Linked DNA regions of Homo sapiens: all the other regions are linked to region 3. Evidence: promoter capture Hi-C in 16 types of primary human blood cells and fetal thymus (Javierre and others, 2016). All regions are on one chromosome and are shown on one strand. Each heading gives the region's core, a stretch centred on a gene start or on the middle of the fragment in contact. The rest is flanking DNA. Distances are from core to core; before and after follow the strand shown. Region 1 overlaps LMAN1L (lectin, mannose binding 1 like). Region 2 has its middle 8.0 kb from the start of CSK. Region 3 holds the start of SEMA7A (semaphorin 7A (JohnMiltonHagen blood group)). Region 4 holds the start of CYP1A2 (cytochrome P450 family 1 subfamily A member 2).

Region 1 (2,970 bases), core at 471-2,970, 390 kb after region 3:
CCGACTTTCTGTCTTCCTCCCCTAGGTTCCCCCTCAGCCCTTCCTGGAGATGCAGCAGCTCCGCCTGGCGAGGCAGCTGGAAGGGCTGTGGGCAAGGCTGGGCTTGGGCACCAGGGAGGATGTAACTCCAAAATCAGACTCTGAAGCTCAAGGAGAAGGTAGGGACCGAGAGAGCGGGCAGGTGGCGCCCATCTGAGTGTCACAGCATCCTCCACCCTTATGACCAGGGGTCCTTTAATCAGTAGGGAAACTGAGGCCTGAGGAGGCCACATCTAAGCAGGCCCTGGGCCCAAGTGTTCTGTGCTATCCCCACCTTACCACTCAGACTCATCTTCCAGGAGAGGGTCTTGGAGGCAGCAGCCACACCTTCTGGCACCCCTCTCCAAGAAGCCACCCCAAAGATAAGATAGGCTGTGTTACCCCACCATGGCTGGCTGCCCATCCCAGCTCTGCCCTAATCCCCAGGGGAAAGGCTCTTTGACCTGGAGGAGACGCTGGGCAGACACCGCCGGATCCTGCAGGCTCTGCGGGGTCTCTCCAAGCAGCTGGCCCAGGCTGAGAGACAATGGAAGAAGCAGCTGGGGCCCCCAGGCCAAGCCAGGCCTGACGGAGGCTGGGTGAGAAGCCCTACAGGCATCCAAGGCTCCACCTGCGGGCCTGAAAGAGGAGCAAGCACTGTAGTCAGCAACTAGTCTCCCCTAAGGCCTGGAGGGAAAGGAAGGCAGGGATGAAATGCTGCAGGTCACAGGATGGGGCAGGGCAGCATGCAGGATGGCATCTCTGCACAAGCAAATGCGCACGGGGCTGGGGCTGAGGCTGGGGCTGGGGAGAGGAGATGCCAGCTATTTGGACTCAGCTCTGTAGATGAATGACAGAAATAGACTAGGTGCTAATTTGCATGTAGCTTCACATGCGATTTGCATAGGGCTTGCTTAATGCTCAGTTGCACCAGAAGCCTCATTGCATCTCCATTGCCATCTGGCTCCTCCCCCAGGGAGTCATAACTCGGGTCATGCCCAGCCTGGGGGCCTGAGAGCTAAACTCAGCCAAGGTGTTAGATACTGGGCAGAGGAGGCCAGCAGCTCTTGTGGGCTTTGCTGGGCTCTGACAGCTCGAGGTTTTAATCTTGTGTCAGAGCAGCTTAGGCTGGGCTGCTAGTGTGGGGAAGAGGGGAGGGGACTTACACTCCAGGGCCAAGCCTCTCTGATCCTATCCCCAGGCCCTGGATGCTTCCTGCCAGATTCCATCCACCCCAGGGAGGGGTGGCCACCTCTCCATGTCACTCAATAAGGTAGGGACCCAAACACTGGGTGTTGACCAGCACTGGCCCCAGCTTGGCTGGTGCTCTGGGAGAACCAGGGCAGAGAGGACTGGGCTGGGCCTCTGCTTCCTTCAGGGGACAGAACCACTTTTAGAAGGGAGACGTATTTTGGCTTGGCATGGTGGCTCACGCGTGTAATCCTAGCACTTTGGGAGGCCAAGGCGGACAGATCACGAGGTCAAAAGACTGACACCATCGGGCAGATCACAAGGTCAAAAGATCGAGACCATCCTGGCCAACATGGTGAAACCCTGTCTCTACTGAAAATACAAAAATTATACAAAAATTAGCTGGGCGTGGTGGCATGCATCTGTAGTCCCAGCTACTTGGGAGGCTGAGGCAGAAGAATCGCTTGAACCCAGGAGGCAGAGGTAGCAGTGAGCTGAGATTGTGCCACTGCACTCCAGCCTGGCCGCAGAGCAAGACTCCATCTCAAATAAATAAATAAGAAGGGAGAAGTATTTTGAGAAAACCCTGAAGTGGCCACTGTTGGGAGGAAACAACCACCCCTGGGGAGAGGGGCGTGAGTGGAGGGGGAATGTGGATGCCCTTATGGATGAGGTCAGAGAAACACAGTGTGTCCAAATAAGGAGGCCCTGGTAATCTGGGAAGGCCTCTGGAAGGAAGAGGCTGCAGTGCCGCTGGGAAGGTGGGCTCTGAGAAGAGAGGGGCTATGTCCTGGGCCCTAGACAAGAGGCTGCCCCTCTGCAGGACTCTGCCAAGGTCGGTGCCCTGCTCCATGGACAGTGGACTCTGCTCCAGGCCCTGCAAGAGATGAGGTAAGGGACTGGGTGGGGACCCCTCCACCACCTTGTTTCTCCGCCTTAAGTTCCTCCATTAGCCCTTCATTCCTTCCATCATTTCCTGAGCGCCCAGCACACAGCCTGTCAATTGGAAGGGCTACTGGTGGAGTTAGGTTTGTTGAGTTGACTTGAATTTAATTGAATCAAGTTTAATGTTTTGCAAGTCCTAGTTAAAAAGCAATTCTCTCCTGGAGAAGCCCATCATGAAGGCCCCCTCAGACACTCCCACCCTCAGGAGGCTTAAGAAATCTGAGCATTCCTTCAATGGCAGCTCCTAGGATGAGGGGCATTTTGTTGGGGGCTCTTGGAGAGGGAGCACAGCCAAGATCAGACCAGTTGGATGAGACAGTCCCTGACTTGGTTTTGTGCCCCCATTAACTTCCCGGTATCCCACTCTAGGCCAGGCCTCTGGAGCCCTGGGGGTTGGGGGAGTCCTGGGGATGCTGTGGAGGAGGCATGCATCCCAGGCTGAAGCCTAAAGCCCCACCTGTACACACACAGCTAGATGCCTAGGGTTGGGGGTGGAGAGGCACCTAGATGAGAAGAAGGAAAGGAGTTAAATCCCCAGGGGCTGGGAATGGAAGGCAGAGCCGGGGAGCCTGGGGTTGACACAGATAGCTTTAGGGAGATCTTTATCTGAGCTAAAGTCTCAGGATCTAGGAAGAAGGTTGGAGGTGAAAAGACCAGCCCCCAAGAAGGGGCCCCATGGATGGTACCTGTTCCCCATCCATGTGCTGCCCTTGGGGAGATGGGAAATGATTAGGCCATCTGGGTGGAAGCAGAAGAGGTAATGAGTCATCTTACTTGGTTACCACCCCCGGTTAGGGATGCAGCTGTCCGCATGGC
Region 2 (3,139 bases), core at 309-2,808, 340 kb after region 3:
GATATCGCACCACTGTACTCCAGCCTGGGTGACAGAGCAAGACCCTGTCTCAGAAAAAAAAAAAAAGGATCGGCCCTGGGTTCGGTGGCTCACACCGTAATCCCAGCACTTTGGGAGGGCGAGGCAGGTGGATCACTTGAGGTCAGGATTTCTCAAGACCAGCCCGGCCAACATGGTGAAACCCCATCTCTACTGAAAATACAAAAATTAGCCAGGCATAGTGGCACACGCCTGTAGTCCCAGCTACTCAGGAGGCTAAGGCAGGAGAATCACTTGAACCTGGGAGATGGAGCTTGCAGGGAGCCAAGATCGCTCTACTACACTCCAGCCTGGGCGACAAAGTGAGACTCTGTCTCAAAATAAAAGAAAAAAAAGAAAAGAAGGAACTGACCCTGGCTGGAGGGAGAGGTGACTGGGACCTCCCGGGGCTACCTCAATGTCAGGAGAGCACTCCTGGAGACCCAAAGCTTCCAGTTAGGGATTCAAGAAGATAGACTGGGGCGCGGGCAATAGGGATGCAGGCAAGGAGCTTCTCCTTGGAACGGGAGCCCTGAGACCCCCGGGGGAAAATCTGGTCACTCACGTATTCATTCAGCACACATTTATGGCTACAGGCTCTGTGCCTTCCCATGGAGAGACAGAAGAAAGGGAGCCAGTCCCTGTCCTCACGGAGCTCACCTCACCCAAACACACACTCTCTAGAAGGAAATTCTGGGGGTCTTACGGGCCAAAAGGAAGGGGCATTTCCCTCCAGGTCCTCTGGAGTCCCCTGACAAAGGGCCCTCCAGGCCTCATCCCTGACTCACTGGGGCTTCCAAAGTCTCCTCCGGCTCAGGGAGTATCTATCCCTGGCCCCAGCCCCCAGCCCAGTTCCACCCCACCCCCAATCAGGCAAGGAGGTCTTTCAAAAGCTCCTCTGATCTCTGACAGGGACAATGTTGGCACACAGGTTTCTTCACAGGTGTAACACCTGGGCGGGGGCATTTGCATGGGTTTTGCAAAAGCTGGGCCTGAGGCTCACCAGTGCCCAGTTGCTCTCTCTTCCCAGCCCTCGCAGAGCAGACCTCCTGCTCCTTCTCACCTGCCCCACCTTGGGCCAGGTCTCTAACCTTTGCACTGCAGAGAACCCCAGGGCCTCTTTTCCTGCTTTCGCCCAAAGAGTTCCCAGGAGGAAAGCCAGAACAGTGCCAACTGCGGCTTCCAGTCAGCAAGGCAGAGCCTGGGGACTATTGGGTTCAGCACAAAAGTGACCCCTGACAGCATTGAGGGAGATATGTCAGCCTGCTGTGAGCCCAGGACTCCAGGTGGGAACCAGGTAGCTCTGGCTCTGCCCAATTCCAGCTGCTCCAGTGCCTGGAAGGTAGTAAACACGCCCTCAATATTTAGTGAATGGATGAATGAGGGTTTTCAATTCATCAGCCATTGCGAAACTGTAGGCCTAGGAACAGACAAAAGGCCTGGCCCTACCCTTGGAAAGCCCGACTGAACCCAGCAGGGGAGAGCCAGAACTACAAAGCCTGTTTCAGGAGTGAGAGAAAAAATATTCATCTAACTGCCGTGGTGTGAAAGTCTGCCTTGTGTCAAAGAACCCTGCTAAGCAAGCAACTTTACATCATCTCGGTTTAGCATAAGTCCCCTGTGACATGGGTCCTCTCAGTCCCACTTTAGAGATGAGGAAACTGAGGCTCAGAAAGGTTCAGTGACTTTTGCTTAAGGTCACAAGGCTGGGATGGGGTGCAGCCAGGACTCCAACCTGGAAGACTTTGTAATAAATTGAGCAAGAATGATGTGGTGGCATCCCGGGTCCCTTTTCCCCCAGCTGGGATCTGGTGACTGTGTCCTCCTTAAATCCCTCTTTAGTTTTCTTATCTGCAAATAGAAGTAATAATAATATCTACATTGTAAAGAGATTGGGAGGATCAAATGAAACTTAAGACATGTAGAATAGCCAGGCAGGCCCCTGTAGTCCCAGCTACTCTGAGAGGCTGAGGCAGAAGGATTGCTTGAGCCTAGAAGCTCCAAAACCATCCTAGGCACATAGGGAGACCCTTTCTCAAAAAAAAAGTAAACAGCAGGGTGCGGTGGCTCACACCTGTAATCCCAGCACTTTGGGAGGCCAAGGCAGGTGGATCACTTGAGCTCAGGAGCTCCAGACCAGCCTGGCCAAGATGGCGAAACCCTGTCTCTACTAAAAATACAAAAATTAGCTGGGTGTGATGGCACGCATGTGCCTGTGGTCCCAGCTACTTGCTGGGAGGCTGAGGTGGGAGAATCACTTGAACCCAGGGTGGGGGGAGGGGGGTGGCAGTGGAGGTTGCAGGAGATGAGATCGCACCACTGCACTACAGCCTGGGCAACAGAGCAAGACTCTGTCTCAAAAACAAACAAACAAAAAGACACGTAAAATGCTTAGAATGATGCTAGCACATGCAACACCTACATTAGCATTGCCTATTATTATTATTATTAATTGAAATTCATATCACTTATTCATTCAACAAACGTTTGAGTACCAGGATTCAGCCTCCAGCAGCCGATCAGGACACAAATACGAAGTGGGTAGTCAGTGCTATAATACTAAGAAGTGGGCCAGTGAGGGACAATAGCAGAGGGGAGGCTTCCAGCCTTGGGATGTGGGAAGAGGTCATCAAAGCTTCCCGAGGACAGCCAGTCAATTCTCCAACCAGAAGCAGAAGTAATATTTTTAACATGCAAATCTGATCAGCTGAGGCTGTGGTGAACCCTCAAATAGCATGGGGGCGGGGCCCCGATGCCCTAAGGATGAAGTCCAAAGACTCCCCTATTCCACAGGGGATCCTACAGGCTCTGGCCATTTGCGCCTCTGCTTCCAAGGCTCTGACCCCATCCCATCCTGGCCTGTTTTCCTTTTGCCCAAAGCTCAATCCCTTCCAGTTCCAGGGCCTCTGCTCCTGTTGCCCCCTCTGCCAGGCCCCCAGGCACCACCTCTCCTCCTGCAGGGTCTGAGTGCTCAGGTGAGGAGAGGTCTCTGCTCCGCACTCACACTGCACTTGCACAATCCTCTGGGAACTTGCCTCGCCTTGTTGAACACCTCTGCCCCCACAAGACAGAACATTCCAAGAAGATAGGGACCCAGGAGGAGGGAATCGTGTGCGTGGGG
Region 3 (3,402 bases), core at 882-3,381:
ACCACAGACTGTCGTTGGACAAGACTGGTGAACGGTTGGCAGACCCCAGCCAGCGGGGCTCAACAGTGCATTACTAAGCAGAGGGCACAGCCAGTGTGGCTACAGCAGTGAACTGCGGGCGGGGGGGTAGGCCATGGAGCTGTGCTGGGAGCTTCGAAAAGTGGGTAAGAGGACTGAAAGCAACTTTAAATAGCCTCAGGGTGGGAACTAAGTGCCCAGGATGGGATGTATGCATTAAGTGCTAAGAAGTGGGTGTGCATTAAGTGGGGTGGGGGTGGGGGGTCATGGGAAGACTTTGGGACAGGCAAACAGAGTCAAAATGCAAGGGGTTTGATGGAGGGAAAGATTCCAGAACACTCAGATGTGGCCATTTGTCCCCTCCAGAGTGCCCACACGCTATGATGTCCAAGACAGCCAAGGAGACTGAGGGAAGGCAAAGCTGCTGGGAGGGCAAAGGAAGCTTGGGCTGGAGCTGGGATGGCAGAGGGGTGTGCAGGCCTCCTCCATGTACAGGCGGCCGGAGCTCTAGCAGCACTGCTCGGCTTCCTCCAGGAGCACCTCAGGCTGGGTAGCCGAGCTGGTCCCCAGAGCACCTCATTCATGGTCCCTGAACCACCTAAATCCTTCTCCCCTCCCTAACCCAGAACCTGGACTGGTCCTGTGCCAGATCAGAGCCCCTGCCTGCACCTGGGCTCCCACACTGCTCAGTGACCTTGGGCAAGTCACATTCCCTCAGCTACTGCGGCAGTTCGGGCCACTCGTTTTGTGTATGGTTTTTTTTCCCCTCTGCTAATAATACCTGCCCCAGATAATGCTCAGACTCCCGCAATCCCTGCAAACTGCCAAAGGCATCAAAAGGCTCCCGGTGGGGCCAGACCCGACCAGTTCCCCCAGCCCCCACTGCGAGTCCCCCACCATCACGACAGGGGGGCCGCAGACACGCCAAATTTGGGGACAGAGCCGAATCGGACTGGGGGCGGGGAGGCATTTGTGTGCAATGCAGGGGAGGGGAGATCAGTTCCTCGCGGCAGAAAGCCTCAAACCCCCGCCTAACCGGCTTTCTGTCCCATAGTACAGGGTCTAAACTGAGGTGCCCTGGGGGAGACTCCAGTCCCCCAGGTTCTTATTATCTACCCTGGCCTAAAGGCTGCACCCCCGCCCTAGATCCACCGCCTGGGGGTCCCAACGGCCGTGCCCCACCCAACGGGCACTGCCCCCCAACGCTGGAGCCGATTTCTGGTGACAACTGCCACGTGCGGGCAAGGGGGGAGCGGCCGGTCCCGGCATTGCTGAGGCAGCGCCCTGGTACCCCAAGCCGCCGCACCGCACCATGTCCCGCCGCTCGCTGCAGGATGCCCACCCCCTTGCCTGGCCCGAGCTCCGGGCCGGGGCGGGGGCGGGGGCAGGCGGCGGGGTCTTTGTTCCCGCTGCCGAAGCGCGGCGGCGGCGGCAAGGGGTCCGCGCCCCCCTTGCCGGCCCAGCCTGCGCCCCGCGCGCCAGCAGAGCCCGCAGCTCAAAAGGAGGGTACCCGGGTTGGGGTCCCAGGCGGGGAAAGGTCCTCCGCCGAAGCCCCCGAGCCAGAGGACCCAGAGTGGCTCGGGGCCGAGAGAGGGGCCCGCCCCCTCCCCTGGCGCCCGGGCGTTGCGGCTCCTGGCTGCCAGGGACTTGGTGCGACTTAGCCGGGGCTCCGGCCCCCGCCGCTCGCTCGCCGCAGCGTTACAGCCGGCTCTGGTGTGCCAGCGTGTACACTCACACACACTCACCCAAACCCACACGCTCCACGCGGGGACAGCGCGGGGACAGCCCGGGACCCGCAGAGCTGCGCGCACGCACTCCCTCCGGGTGCAGCACACTCCGCACCCGCCCCGCGCAGCGTCTGATCCCGCGCCTGACCGGCCGCGCGGCGCCGCCTACCTTTCCAGACGGCGAAGATGCGGGGTCCGCTCCTTAGGTGGCCCTGGGCGGAGGCGGCGGCCGCCCAGAGCAGCAGCAGCAGCCGCAGCCGCAGCGGAAGCCCCAACCGAGCCGGCGGGCCAGGGACGCGGGCGCGCGGTGCGCTGGGGGCGGCACGTCCGGGCGGAGGAGGCGTCATCCCGTGGCCCCGGGAGCGACAGCGGCAATCAGCCGAGACTGAGCCAGCGCCCGGCCGCAGGCAGACCCAAGCGCCAGGAGGCGGAGCCAGCGCTGACCCCACCCCGCCCCTCCCCCCGCCCCTCGCAGCCTTTTCTCGCCTCACTGGCTTTCCTGAGCGAGAGCGGAACTGCTGGGGGAACCTTCGCCACCCTCTCCCGGGCAACTCTACGGGGAAAGCCCAGCTGCGGACAAGCCAGACTTGTGGTCTTCTGCCAGGGGCGGCAGGCCCTATCCCCTCTCTGGGCCTCAGTTCCACTCCCCGCACCCCGTAAAAAGATTGGCGTAGAAGTCGTGGAGGACCTCTCTCCAAGGGCGCAGAGGAGTCCAACACCCAACAACCTTGCTATGGCCAGCTAAGTGGTTCGCACCCTGAGGACTATGGTCCTCGGAGGATGCGTTCGCCTAAGTGGACACGGCTCCCTGCTGAGCCTACCAGCAGGCACAACGATGATATGTGGGGAGCACTCAGGGACCCGCTGTTGCTTTGCCTGGGAGAACACTGGAAATTTTTCATCTTGGCCTGGCTCCTTCCCCTCCCTCTCCTTTCTCCTCCCTTTCCCAGCCAGCAGCCTTCTGGGCTGCCTCCCCCCAAGCCAGCTGGTGTACGCTCAGAAAATCCAAACTCATTTCCATGTGAGTGGAGGGGGATATAATTAGGAAGGCCCCTTCCCCAAGTAGAGAGGGGAGCATCCCCCGTGCCCCACTCACTGTGGGGGAGGGAGGGTCAAAGCAGCTTAAGGGGATCTCTGCCCGCAAAGTGCCTAGGGCTCAGCTATCTCAGGCAACCTGACCATTCAGTGGGGACTCCCTTGGGGGGTCCAGGCCCAGACCCTCTGCAGTTACCTGAGCAGTCCAGCCAGCTCTGCCATCAGCTCCTCCTCTCAGAACTACGTGCCTGCCCTTTGTAAAAGGGTCTCCTCTCTCTAGACCAGACAGGGCCCAGACCTACCACTTCCACTTGTGCCCCAGGGAACCATGAATGGAAAATCCACCCAGCTCAGTAAGTACTTATCTAGTGTTTACTGGATGTCTAGCTGCACTGAGAGGAGACAGGCCGAGGAAGGAGTAGAGGTGAACATCCAACCTTCAGAACTCACAGACCTAGACACGATTCACGCACTGCAGACACCAGCAAAGGCGGTGGGCTGGCTGCCCTCTGCCCTCTGCCCTGCTCCATGGGGCCAGGACCATTTGGTTGTTGTTTTTACCTCCTGGAACCAGGAAAGTTTTGCTACCAAGAAGTTTGGCTTTACCATTCTACATTTTGCT
Region 4 (3,145 bases), core at 384-2,883, 310 kb after region 3:
GGCAAGAGGATTGTTTGAGCTCAGGAGGTCGAGGCTGCAGTGAGCCATGATTGTGGCACATGAACCCCAACCTGGGTGACAGAGCAAGACTCTGTATCTAAAAAAAAAAAAAAAAGATAGCAAACTTCCTTTTCACATCCAATTTAAGGCTTGTCCTCCTCCTCCTCTTAGATCTGACTGAGATCTGGGTCCATATTAAAGACTCCTTTAGTACAACAAACACCATATATCCTCACGTAAGTCCATGAATATCTGACATTTCTCATATCTACTTTCTCTCGATTTATTGATAGATAGGTATACATTGTTTTAATTTTATGGGTACATAGTAGGTGTATATATGTATGGGGTACATGAAATGTTTTGATACAGGCATGCAATATGAAATAAGCATTCATGGAGAATGGAGTATCCATCCCCTCAAGCAAGGATAAACCTTTGAGTTACAAACAATCCAATTACACTCTTTAAAGGTGTACATTTTTTTTTTTTTTGAGACGGAGTCTCACTCTGTCGCCCAGGCTGGAGTGGAGTGGCACGATCTTGGCTCACTGCAGCCTCCACCTCCCAAGTTCAAGCCATTCTCCTGCCTCAGCCTCCCGAGTAGCTGGGATCACAGGCACATGCCACCATGCCTGGCTAATTTTTGTATTTTTAGTAGAGACGGAGTTTCACCAGGTTGGCCAGGCTGGTCTTGAACACCTGATCTCAGGTGATCCGCCCATCTCGGCCTCTCAAAGTGCTGGGATTACAGGTGCGAGCCATCGCGCCTGGCCTAGAGGTGTACATTTTTTAACAGAACCATTCAAAAGGAGGTTGTGGGGATCATGACACTTCCATGCTACAGCATTAATCTCCTAAGAATAAGGATACACTCCCACATACCATGACACTCTGTTCACACCTAAAAAAATTTACATTTATTCCAGAATATCATCTAATCTCCAGTCCGTGCTTACATGTCCCCAATTGTCCCCAAAACATCTTTTATAGATTTTTTTAAAATTTTGTTTAAATGCCATATCCAATCGATATGGCAATCAAATGCAAATCCATATTGCATTTGGTTATGTCTCTTAGTCTTTTTGCATAAGGGGGGCCTCTCTTTAGGATGCAAAATCTTTATCATCTCTTCTTTTCCACTTGGGGACTTGGGCTGAAAATCAGGAGTGGCTGGAACACGCCCATTTACTGTTTGGTTTTGCAGGTTGTTGGAGGGTACTACAGAAGAACATCCCTCTGGAGAGGGGCCGTGAGCCTGGTTGGCCTAGACTGAGTGCCCTGGCAGAGCTCTTCCTCATGTGTGCAGTGGGAAAGAAGCCCAGATCAGTCCAAAGGCCTAACCCCCACTCCCAGACCCTACCCTACTCTTCAGAGAAATAGGCTCCCTACCCTGAACCCTAAAGACAGCTGTACCTTCATCCCCAGGGACCCAGCACCCCTTCTGGCCTATCCCCAAAGAGTCACCCTGGGTCTTAGGTAGTAGGTGGAGCTGAGGGATAATGGCCCAAGGCCAAGAGTTGATCCTTCCAACTTTGTTCAGTGATCCAGCTTTCATATCAGGTGATCAGGACAACCAGGCCAATCTGATAGGGGGCGGTGTTTATAAAAAGGCCACTCACCTAGAGCCAGAAGCTCCACACCAGCCATTACAACCCTGCCAATCTCAAGCACCTGCCTCTACAGGTACCTTTCTTGGGACCAATTTACAATCTCTGGGATCCCCAACTATAGAACCTGGAAGCTAGTGGGGACAGAAAGACGGGGAGCCTGGGCTAGGTGTAGGGGTCCTGAGTTCCGGGCTTTGCTACCCAGCTCTTGACTTCTGTTTCCCGATTTTAAATGAGCAGTTTGGACTAAGCCATTTTTAAGGAGAGCGATGGGGAGGGCTTCCCCCTTAGCACAAGGGCAGCCCTGGCCCTGGCTGAAGCCCAACCCCAACCTCCAAGACTGTGAGAGGATGGGGACTCATCCCTGGAGGAGGTGCCCCTCCTGGTATTGATAAAGAATGCCCTGGGGAGGGGGCATCACAGGCTATTTGAACCAGCCCTGGGACCTTGGCCACCTCAGTGTCACTGGGTAGGGGGAACTCCTGGTCCCTTGGGTATATGGAAGGTATCAGCAGAAAGCCAGCACTGGCAGGGACTCTTTGGTACAATACCCAGCATGCATGCTGTGCCAGGGGCTGACAAGGGTGCTGTCCTTGGCTTCCCCATTTTGGAGTGGTCACTTGCCTCTACTCCAGCCCCAGAAGTGGAAACTGAGATGATGTGTGGAGGAGAGAGCCAGCGTTCATGTTGGGAATCTTGAGGCTCCTTTCCAGCTCTCAGATTCTGTGATGCTCAAAGGGTGAGCTCTGTGGGCCCAGGACGCATGGTAGATGGAGCTTAGTCTTTCTGGTATCCAGCTGGGAGCCAAGCACAGAACACGCATCAGTGTTTATCAAATGACTGAGGAAATGAATGAATGAATGTCTCCATCTCAACCCTCAGCCTGGTCCCTCCTTTTTTCCCTGCAGTTGGTACAGATGGCATTGTCCCAGTCTGTTCCCTTCTCGGCCACAGAGCTTCTCCTGGCCTCTGCCATCTTCTGCCTGGTATTCTGGGTGCTCAAGGGTTTGAGGCCTCGGGTCCCCAAAGGCCTGAAAAGTCCACCAGAGCCATGGGGCTGGCCCTTGCTCGGGCATGTGCTGACCCTGGGGAAGAACCCGCACCTGGCACTGTCAAGGATGAGCCAGCGCTACGGGGACGTCCTGCAGATCCGCATTGGCTCCACGCCCGTGCTGGTGCTGAGCCGCCTGGACACCATCCGGCAGGCCCTGGTGCGGCAGGGCGACGATTTCAAGGGCCGGCCTGACCTCTACACCTCCACCCTCATCACTGATGGCCAGAGCTTGACCTTCAGCACAGACTCTGGACCGGTGTGGGCTGCCCGCCGGCGCCTGGCCCAGAATGCCCTCAACACCTTCTCCATCGCCTCTGACCCAGCTTCCTCATCCTCCTGCTACCTGGAGGAGCATGTGAGCAAGGAGGCTAAGGCCCTGATCAGCAGGTTGCAGGAGCTGATGGCAGGGCCTGGGCACTTCGACCCTTACAATCAGGTGGTGGTGTCAGTGGCCAACGTCATTGGTGCCATGTGCTTCGGA

The links. Contacts are between HindIII fragments. The CHiCAGO score rates a contact against its expected background, and 5 or more counts as called.
Region 1: a fragment that was not itself captured here is called in contact with the fragment with the promoter of SEMA7A in region 3 in 1 of 17 cell types (M1 macrophages); the score reaches 5.3 in M1 macrophages.
Region 2: a contact is called between a fragment that was not itself captured here and the fragment with the promoter of SEMA7A in region 3, in 6 of 17 cell types (M0 macrophages, naive B cells, M1 macrophages and 3 more). The highest score is 7.4, in M0 macrophages.
Region 4: a contact is called between the fragment with the promoter of CYP1A2 here and the fragment with the promoter of SEMA7A in region 3, in 3 of 17 cell types (M0 macrophages, endothelial precursors and M1 macrophages). The highest score is 7.7, in M0 macrophages.

What each region holds. Positions count from the first base shown.
Region 1 is chr15:74,820,610-74,823,579 of GRCh38, forward strand. LMAN1L (lectin, mannose binding 1 like) reads left to right here. Exons shown (of 14, transcript NM_021819.3): 8 at 26-158; 9 at 466-617; 10 at 1,220-1,291; 11 at 2,033-2,100; 12 at 2,950-2,970. Among named protein-coding and RNA genes, the nearest start is that of CPLX3, 4.5 kb to the right of the region's middle. RefSeq lists enhancers at 1-60, 61-874, 1,689-2,501. The HindIII fragment of the contact is 5,744 bases long and covers 1-2,970 here.
Region 2 is chr15:74,772,524-74,775,662 of GRCh38, forward strand. No RefSeq gene overlaps it. Among named protein-coding and RNA genes, the nearest start is that of CSK, 8.0 kb to the right of the region's middle. RefSeq lists enhancers at 1-182, 1,139-1,716, 2,816-2,925, 2,946-3,015. The HindIII fragment of the contact is 2,186 bases long and covers 466-2,651 here.
Region 3 is chr15:74,431,827-74,435,228 of GRCh38, forward strand. SEMA7A (semaphorin 7A (JohnMiltonHagen blood group)) reads right to left here and starts at 2,132. Exons shown (of 14, transcript NM_003612.5): 1 at 1,915-2,132. The coding sequence starts at 2,092. RefSeq lists silencers at 1,295-1,414, 1,565-1,714, 1,765-2,274. The HindIII fragment of the contact is 7,034 bases long and covers 459-3,402 here.
Region 4 is chr15:74,747,212-74,750,356 of GRCh38, forward strand. CYP1A2 (cytochrome P450 family 1 subfamily A member 2) reads left to right here and starts at 1,634. Exons shown (of 7, transcript NM_000761.5): 1 at 1,634-1,686; 2 at 2,519-3,145. The coding sequence starts at 2,528. RefSeq lists a cis regulatory region at 1-303 and promoters at 1-1,724, 1,390-2,527. The HindIII fragment of the contact is 9,803 bases long and covers 1-3,145 here.